Regions from separate parts of the Homo sapiens genome. Here region 1 is linked to region 2. The links are contacts of gene promoters, found by promoter capture Hi-C in blood cells and fetal thymus (Javierre and others, 2016). All regions are on one chromosome and are shown on one strand. Each heading gives the region's core, a stretch centred on a gene start or on the middle of the fragment in contact. The rest is flanking DNA. Distances are from core to core; before and after follow the strand shown. Region 1 overlaps LINC01923 (long intergenic non-protein coding RNA 1923). Region 2 holds the start of PLCL1 (phospholipase C like 1 (inactive)).

What was found. The method cuts DNA at HindIII sites, captures the fragments that hold promoters and counts their contacts. A CHiCAGO score of 5 or more calls a contact.
Region 1: a fragment that was not itself captured here is called in contact with the fragment with the promoter of PLCL1 in region 2 in 8 of 17 cell types (naive CD4 T cells, total CD4 T cells, megakaryocytes and 5 more); the score reaches 8.0 in naive CD4 T cells.

What each region holds. Positions count from the first base shown.
Region 1 is chr2:198,322,975-198,327,367 of GRCh38, reverse strand. The region is part of intron 2 of LINC01923 (long intergenic non-protein coding RNA 1923); the gene reads left to right. Among named protein-coding and RNA genes, the nearest start is that of LINC01923, 50 kb to the left of the region's middle. The HindIII fragment of the contact is 3,892 bases long and covers 686-4,393 here.
Region 2 is chr2:197,802,639-197,806,822 of GRCh38, reverse strand. It overlaps PLCL1 (phospholipase C like 1 (inactive)), which reads right to left and starts at 2,230. Exons shown (of 6, transcript NM_006226.4): 1 at 1,484-2,230. The coding sequence starts at 1,723. LOC105373828 (a long non-coding RNA gene) reads left to right here and starts at 2,277. Exons shown (of 4, transcript XR_001739850.3): 1 at 2,277-3,114. RefSeq lists a silencer at 2,054-2,183. The HindIII fragment of the contact is 1,428 bases long and covers 1,210-2,637 here.

The DNA of each region.
Region 1 (4,393 bases), core at 1,382-3,881, 520 kb before region 2:
CATACAAATTTGAATTCACTGCTGTTGTTTAAGGATACACCTAAATTATTTCACTCCATGCTTGAGCCATTCAAATTTGTAAAACTGTCTACTAAATAAAGCCAGTTGAGAATGTAATAAAATTTATTCACTCATTTAATAAAAATCCATTCAAAGTCACTTTTGAGACAGATAGCTATTGGATACACAATGATACAGAAATACAGACTTCTTTGGCCTTTCAGGTTCAAGAGTTTAAAAGCAAATTTAATCATAACATAACTCATGTCCCTTATTCCTTTTCATAGTAATAATGCTTTACATTTAAATGACATATTTTAACTAAGAATACTTCACTGCCCTTACTCCTCACAATACTTTTATGCTCTAAACTGAGAGTATTATTCTTTTCACTTCAGAAAAGTAAGTCACTTGTTTAAAGTTACACTGGCTATTTAGAGTAAGAACTATCAGAAGATCACTTATGCTTACCTTTACATTATTTACAAAGTCCAAATATCATTCCAAAACTCCTACTGCTTTAATAGAGAGTTACAGATGAGAATAATGAATAACCTATGTTCCAGGATTCTCTCATACAAATTTTATTGTATCTGAAAATATTGGATGACAAAGTGCAAAGTGACAGTGAGTCAAGACTTGAAGTGTTTATAGAACTAATTTTTTCAGTGGTAACAGAAAAGCTTGAGAGGAAGGAAAGACTAAACCACACCTATAAATGGCAGATGAATCAGGCTGTGACTGCAGAGTTTTTTTTCTTTTTTTATTATCTTCATGCAGGATATGGGCTACCACAACAAAAATAATTTGTGGTAATCAACTTCTACCATTCATATAGTTGATGAGAACAAAACGATTATGTTACAGTCATTTATTTCACCCAGGACAGCCTGCCTTGAGTGAGAAAAAAACACTTTTGGAGTCAAAGTTCACTTTTCACAGCCAGGGACTACTGGATTATTATAAAGATTAAATGAGATAATGTATATGAAAATACCTTGTAAACTATAAGAGAATCTTAGGTGTGCCATAAACCAGTGATCGGTGTGATAAGCTATCAGAAGGTCACCAACTTTTTAATAAATAACAAAGTATTTCAATGACTAAAGACTCAAAATAGCTAGTTATGAAAACCTTTCAGTTTTTCCATGGTAAAAAGAATACCCTCCGCTTTTGTGATGCTGCTGCTGACACAGTATTTTTTGCATAAAATATTTTAGAGATATCAGCAAGAAGAGGGTTAGTGCCATCAGTCTGTTGAAGAAAGTGACCTCAGTCCTGTAGTACTTTCTCATTCCTGACTTCACCTTTCTCTGACCTGTCATACACCTTTGGCACCCAGTTGTCTTACATACTTATTTCAAAATCTTAATAGGACAACAAATCACAACCTGATCTTTAATTGTTCTTCCCAATGAAGTGTGGAAACTGAAAACATCAAGAATTTTTGCCTCTCCAAAGAAAATGTGTACATACATAATTGGAATCATTGCAGCTGATAAGTCACAGTGTGATAAAGAGATGGGATAATAATGGCAGAATTTTAGGCATCAGACAAATTAGGAAGAAAAGGATTATACGGGCATCAGAACCCTTCTGCTAAGCCTGAAACCATACTTCCTAGGTCATCATTTAGTTGAAATAAATTGAGTCTGAACAAAAATAAACTCCAGGACAATCTAACATTATCAAAATCCAAGTCACAATAAGCATATGATTTGCAATAAGCCAGCGTGGTACACTATTGTTCTCAGAGAGGTAAGATTTCTTGCCCTCAGAGATGACTCACCCAACAGCCAGACTGATGTTAGTTTCACCCACCTGAGTTTATATCTCTGCCATGGAGGACTGGAAATACAGTGGACATTTGACTCATGGTTTTCTTTTATTTTTCTCATACTCCCTTAGTTGATGCATCATTGACTCTAAAGATCAAAGGCGAAAGAAAGATATGTACCAAAACCTTAAAAGCTGCCCCAAGTTTCTTTCAGAATCTTTCTGGCATGCTTGAGATCTGCAGACAAAATAACATACTCATTTCTACCACTGGGTTATTAGGAAAATGTTCAGTAGGAGACACAACAAAAATTTCATCTATTCAGCAAATATATATCAACCACGATGTGTCAGACATTGTTCTAGGCACTTGATTTAAAAGGGAAATGTGAATCAGAAAACAAAATTTATTAATTTCAGTGGGAAAAGTGACAAGTACTTTTTAATTGGATCTTTAGGTAAAAATTGGGTAAAACTGAGATAAACCCAAAAAGATTATTAGGTATCCTGTCTAGTACACCCTTCTGGGCCATCCCTACCTTTTGTTGTCTTTGAGTTATTTTCTATCTCTGTGACTTATAGAAAATTAATAATAATGCAAATCATTCTTGTTCATAGAAATACAAATAAGGTATGACCTGTAGAATGCAATTCATTATTGCCTCATATATTGATCCATTTTGCTTCTATTTGTAAATTCATTTCAGCATTGTTTATCTGCCTGTATGTGTGTAGATGTGAATTTGAATCCTTTTTTGAGTAGGTAACATCTTACTGCTTTCCTCATTAATTAATGTAATAAAATCTTTAACACATGTTCATCTTATGTTTGTATAAGAATCATAATTATACTTTTTAAAAAATTATCCTTAAAGAGTTTACAGTAACTATTCATTACGGGACAACCTACTTCAAAAAATATGTTTAGAAAGAAATAGTAAATTGTTTAAAGCTCTTCAAATGCAAAGTATTAAATGCAGGGAAATAGTATCTTCTTACTATTATGTGGTATTTTAAGGCATATTTGATAAGGCCTCAGAGTGCCCTCACATTTCTGATCCCAGATAGAGGAATAGAGCTGAGCTATGGTAGAAAAAAAAAGAATATAAGATCTCTTGTTATTTTTTGCTTTAAAGAAATAATAAACTGCATTGTTGTAACTCAGTGTAAGTAGATTCGAGTAAGGCAATAGATATGGGTGCCAGAAGCTACTCATATCGTTCTTTAAAATGGAAATTTACCGTCTGCTGCATCACATGGACAAAATACAGAACTATTTTTCACAGCTTGTTCACTGAACAGATTATTGTAGAAAAAAAAAAAACTTTTACATTTTCTGCAGATTCCCAAATCTCAGTCAAAAAACTCTTGGCAATTTTTAGCAGTGAAACAGATTTCACTTTCAGATTGAGATACTCCATTTAGCAGTAGTCAGATGATCTTCCAAATAAATATAGACTCGTTTCACTCTTGATTTTATTTAAAAAAAATGTTTTCATGAGGTGTCTTGGAGGAAACTTGCACTTATTTGGTTTTCCCAAGCTAAAGCAAAGAAAAACTCGAAGGTCTAAAAATCAGAGTTAAATAAAAAAAGGAATGTTAAACTGAAAATGTTATTACAAATAATGCATGTTCATCACAGTACCAATAAATAAATAACCCTATAAAACTTTAGAATTAGTTGCAAAGATGCTACAGTCTTTTCTTCCCTAAATCTCAGCTCCCCAAAATATTACTAAACAGAAGTGCATGTGTTCGGTACAATATAACAGGCAGCAATATGTTGAGATACTTCACACAAAGAGGTCTCTGGGCCACTTTTCTCTTTCAAGATTAGCTCTATCACTTAGGTGTGAGGCAACTGCACTTATAAGTTTATTTATATAACCAGTTTTTCCTTAACTACCAGTTATTAATGCCACGGAAAATAATGGCTTATTTCAAATTAAATATAACATGACCAAAATCAGAATAATGATTTAATATAATCCTATTTCTGAGATCCCACTTCTATAGATCTACGCCTCCTCCCTAAATTTCTGTACTAAATTTTGCAAATGTTTCTTCTGTTCATGAAAGGAGGCTATATTGTAATTATGAGTAAAGTCCAGAGGTATTATCTTACTTTTATACTTATAAAAACAGATGATGTGTATATGAATACCACAGGATACCCACTAAATTTCACCAAATTTTGTTGCTATTTTTAACAAGTTTTTATAGATTTGTTAAAGTTCATCCCAGTGACATTAAAGATGATCTCAATCATAAGCCAAACAACCTGGAATTTAAAGCAGATGCTTTACCAAGTAGAGAAAACCAGAAATAGTTCATGCTGCTAAAAGCATTTTATTATTCTCCTAATGAAAATTTTACTGTCTGAGAAGGATTCATTGTGTCCAGTCCCAAAAGCCACATTTCTATGTTTAATGTGACACAGAAGAATAGGTTAGTTTTTGAACTCACCAGGACTCATTGAAAAATTTCAAAGAAGAAAAGCATTTTTTCATATCCTAATTATGATTTTATAAATATTTGGATAACATGAAAGAACAAATATTCATAATTATTTCTTAATAAAAATTTAAACTATTATAAAATGTATAAAAATTGAATA
Region 2 (4,184 bases), core at 981-3,480:
GTCATATATTTTAAAGTCTCTTGCAGTGCCTGTTTTACACACACAGGACACCATGTAGTATCAATACAGTAGAATCCAAAATGTATGTGTTTCCTAATTGTGATGTTTTTTAAGTTTGAAAACAGTGTGCTTTCTGACCTGTGGGTTAAAAACAAAATAGTAATTTCCCTTTGTCCAAATTCACACCCAGAATAGAACACTCCTGTTACATAATCAAAAAGCCACAAAATAACAGAAACTACTACAAGCCATTTGTAATTACCACCCACTCTTCTTTATATATTATAGAAACCTCTCCACTGATTTTAAACTTCCATGTGTCAGTGTTGGGAAAAAGACTTTACTGGAGCCACATTCTGTGGTTAGTCTACCTAAGCTGGTGCTGGGAGCTTGCAACATGCGTGATGCACTGGTTACGCAGCTTAACCCTGAACAGAGCTTTTGAATATATTAGTGAACCCAATAAATTCAATAGTAAGTAAAAGTCCATCTTTCATTGTCATTGAGGGATGTGTGTGTGTGTATGTACACACACACATATATACTTACATATATACATACATACATATCGTTTTATACTGACTGCTCCACCAAAATCAATTTTAATCTGACATACATTTGATTGATTACTCACATGCATTTACACTGAGGCCCTTTTCCAGAGCCTGTGCGAGGGTTCTTTCCTAAATAACCTTACCCCAAAGTCATGCTCCCAAAAGAGGAAATCTCGAACAGAAGAAACAAGCCCCAAGTGGAAGGAAGATGGAAAGAGAAAGGGGAGGAAAGAGGTTTACAAATTCCTTGCCAAATGGATGGAGAGAAATTCTGTGAGGTGATTAGCGGGTCAGGAAGCGTTTTCCCTGGATGTGGTGGTAACCACAAGGACCAGTGATAATGCTTGGGGGATTGATTGCTTTCCGGTTGTGCTTTCTGCAGCGCAAAAACTCTGGGCTCTTGCATTGCTCTTTACTGTGATGCAGGGTCCACTTAAAACTCTGCCTCCCTACCGGGAAAGTTCACACATCTTGGGATTTCGGGATCATTTAAGTCTAGAGGGATTCTTTTTTTACACTTGAGAGTAAGCTGTGCATTTTCTTCATTGTATGGGAAAAGCTAACCCTTCATTGGAAAGCAATGCACAACCATCCGGTGGGTCTGCATTTATCCAGAGTTCTCCCTTCCTCCCTCCATCAACGGTTTAGTGAAGCTTGCAGAGAAAATGAGGGAAAGCATCCATCAGAACGCAAAGACGCAGAGCGGAACTTTTCCTCTGCCGTCAGTGGGGAGAAAAAGTCACTTGTGCGTCTCGTGGCTGACAGCTGAGTCTGGGAACCTCCGGATAAGGAAGGAAGGTTTGGCGTTGAAGGAGGTGGGAGAAAACAATGCTGAGCCCGGATGCCTCCGGACACCGCACATCCTGCCCGGGTCCCTGACCCACCCATCACCCACAGCCACGCTCCCGGTGCGGCGCGGCTTTGCTTACCTTGATGATGCTGCTGCGCCGGGGGGTCGCCCGTGCTGCCTCCAGGAGGCCCGCCTCGCTGTCCGCTGGGGTCCCCGCGGCGCCTGGCAGTGCGACCCCGCTGCGACGGTCCCTCATCCGGCCCCCAGAGGCCGCCGTCACGCAGTCCCCGGCGGCATCCGGGCCCACTCGGGGGTCGTCTTCGCCCCCCGCCGCGTCGGGCGGCGCCGGATCCTCCCTGCCGGCCGCGCCCTCGGCCATGGCCTGGAGCGTTTAGGGCTCCCCGGGGGAAAGCGGGACGCCCGGCAGCGGAGTCCAGCCGCTAGGCACCGGTGCGCTCCTGCACCGGGAGGCGGCCCCGCCAGACTTTGTTTCACCGCCCAGCGGCGGCAGTGGCGGCGGCGGCGGCGGCGGCGGCAACTTTCTGGAGAGGGGACATCGCTCGGGCAGAGACGTCCTCGGGCTTCGGTCTAGGAGGCTAGCAGTCCGGCGGGGGACGGTGGCGGGAGTGGGGAGGCGATGTGAGCGGGAGGCAGAAGGAGAGGCGAAAAAGAGAGGGAGGTATCCGAAATGTGATGCAAACGCCGGCCCTGCGCCAGACAAAAGGCACCGGGCGCCCAGCCAGGCGGCCTCTGGAGCCCGGACGCCGGCGGCCCGATAGGGGCCAGAGCCGGGCGACTGCGGCCGGGCGCACCCGCCACCTGCCCGCGGACTGCGGCGCAGCGGTCCCAGGAAGTGCGGCGGCGGCGGCGGCCTCCACTCAGCTCTGTTGTGACAGGGAGGGAGACTTGTTTTGACAGCCCTTGGGGATTGGCAGGCGTCTGGGCCTCTTAGGAGCCTCGCCTCGCCGAGGGGGCTCGGCCCGACCAATCCTCACTGCGGAGGGGTGTGCCCGAGCGCGAAGAATGGAATGTGTTCTGCAACTGGGAGCCGGCCCAGCGGGGCTAATGTACTCGAGCCAGGGTGTACCCGCGCGCGCGCGTGTGCAAACCCGGAGGCGCTCCGTGTATATTTTAGGAAGTTTAGATTTGCGAAATGAGCCTGAGATGCAACAAAAATCCAGGTTGGGTGAAGGAGAGGGGAGAAAGAAACCTTCTTCTGCCAAACAAAGCAATTTGGAGGAAAGTGGGTATTGAGTATGAATGTCTAAGCGTTTGGGGTGACGGGGTGAAGCTTTGCGTGGTCACAGGTTAATTGCAGGCTCTCAGGCCAATTCTTAGAAGTCAAGTCCATGCAGAGATAAACTAGGGTTTACTGGGATCTTGGGGTTCCATAATTTGCTTCAGGTTCCAGGAAAGGATTCTAAGGTCATTCTGCAGTGTGAGTAAATATAACAAGGAAAGGGAGTCAGTGAAAGAGATGAGGGTGAAAGGAAACTGAACCAACTAAATCCCTCCGAAGACTGACTCTTAAAAAGCACAGATATAATCCAAGTCAGATAAATGCAGGTGGGGAGTTTAGTCTCTATCCTAAAACATTCCTATTTGACAATGGTTCAGCCTCCTTTCTCTATATAATCCTATATAAAAACATATTTTGCTCATTTCCAGTAAGCTAGCAACCAAGAAGGGAGAGATCTTTGGATGATGAGTTAAGTCACTGAAATTATCCACAGAATGCTCAGATGCAAACCATGGTCCTAAGGCTCCCTGGTAAGACAAAAGACTTGGCATTTTAATTTTAAACTCCTTTGATATTAGAATCTATATTAAACCTCACTTATAACATTACATTTTATCTTATTAATAATTTAATAATTTGAGATTTTACTTGTTCCTTAGTCTGGCTAACAGCATGAGAAATTATTCAGCATTTTAGACCAACAATTTGGTTTGAATCTCATAATTTTAGAGATATATGGGGATTTAGGGATCAACTAGGACATCATTTTTGTTTTACGGTTGAGACAAAGGCCCAGGGAGTCTTGTCTACTAGTTAGTGCAGGAGCCAAAATTAGAATCAGCCACCCAACTCCTCCGATAATCTCTTCACTACTTTATCTGTCTCCTCTGGGCTACAACCAGCCAGAACTGGCAGGGGCACTTGGGAGGTTTCAGATTTGACATTTATCAACTACTAGGGAATACTGAGAAGGCTTGACTTTGCCTTTTCTTTAAACATAAATGCAGCCTAGTAATGAATGTACTGTAGAGAGTAGCAGTGACCTCTGGTTTTAGAACCAACACCACCCTCTAGTGAGATTCTGAGAACTGCATCCATAACAGCAAAGGCTTCTTTTTCCCCCTCATCTTTAAAAGACAGGAGGGGTAACCCAACAAAAGTTTCCTTTTCAACAGGTATGCCTTTACAACGCACAGACTAGAGGAAGAAAATAAAGTGTACCCAGACTTAAAACAACCATACATGTCTTCCATCTCCTTTAGTTCAGGGAATTCCTGTCTATGCTATATAGGAAATATTTTTAATTGCTATCCTCAGAAATATATCTTATTTTAGGCTATCATTTTTTTCTTTGATATTCAACTATTATTACATTTGACTTCTGTCATTTACAGTTGTCAGTGCTTCATTTTTCTTTGTTACTCTAATAAAAGTCCCATTCTTCGGTTGTCCTCTGAAAAATGTAAAACTGCCTTTATCTCACTCATTATCTTGTTATAGGATATTAATGTCATTTATAAGTTCCTCATCCTACAGATTTGTGTACCATTATGATAATAATTTATTTTTACAAATTTTAAAATTAGCATCACTTTATTAA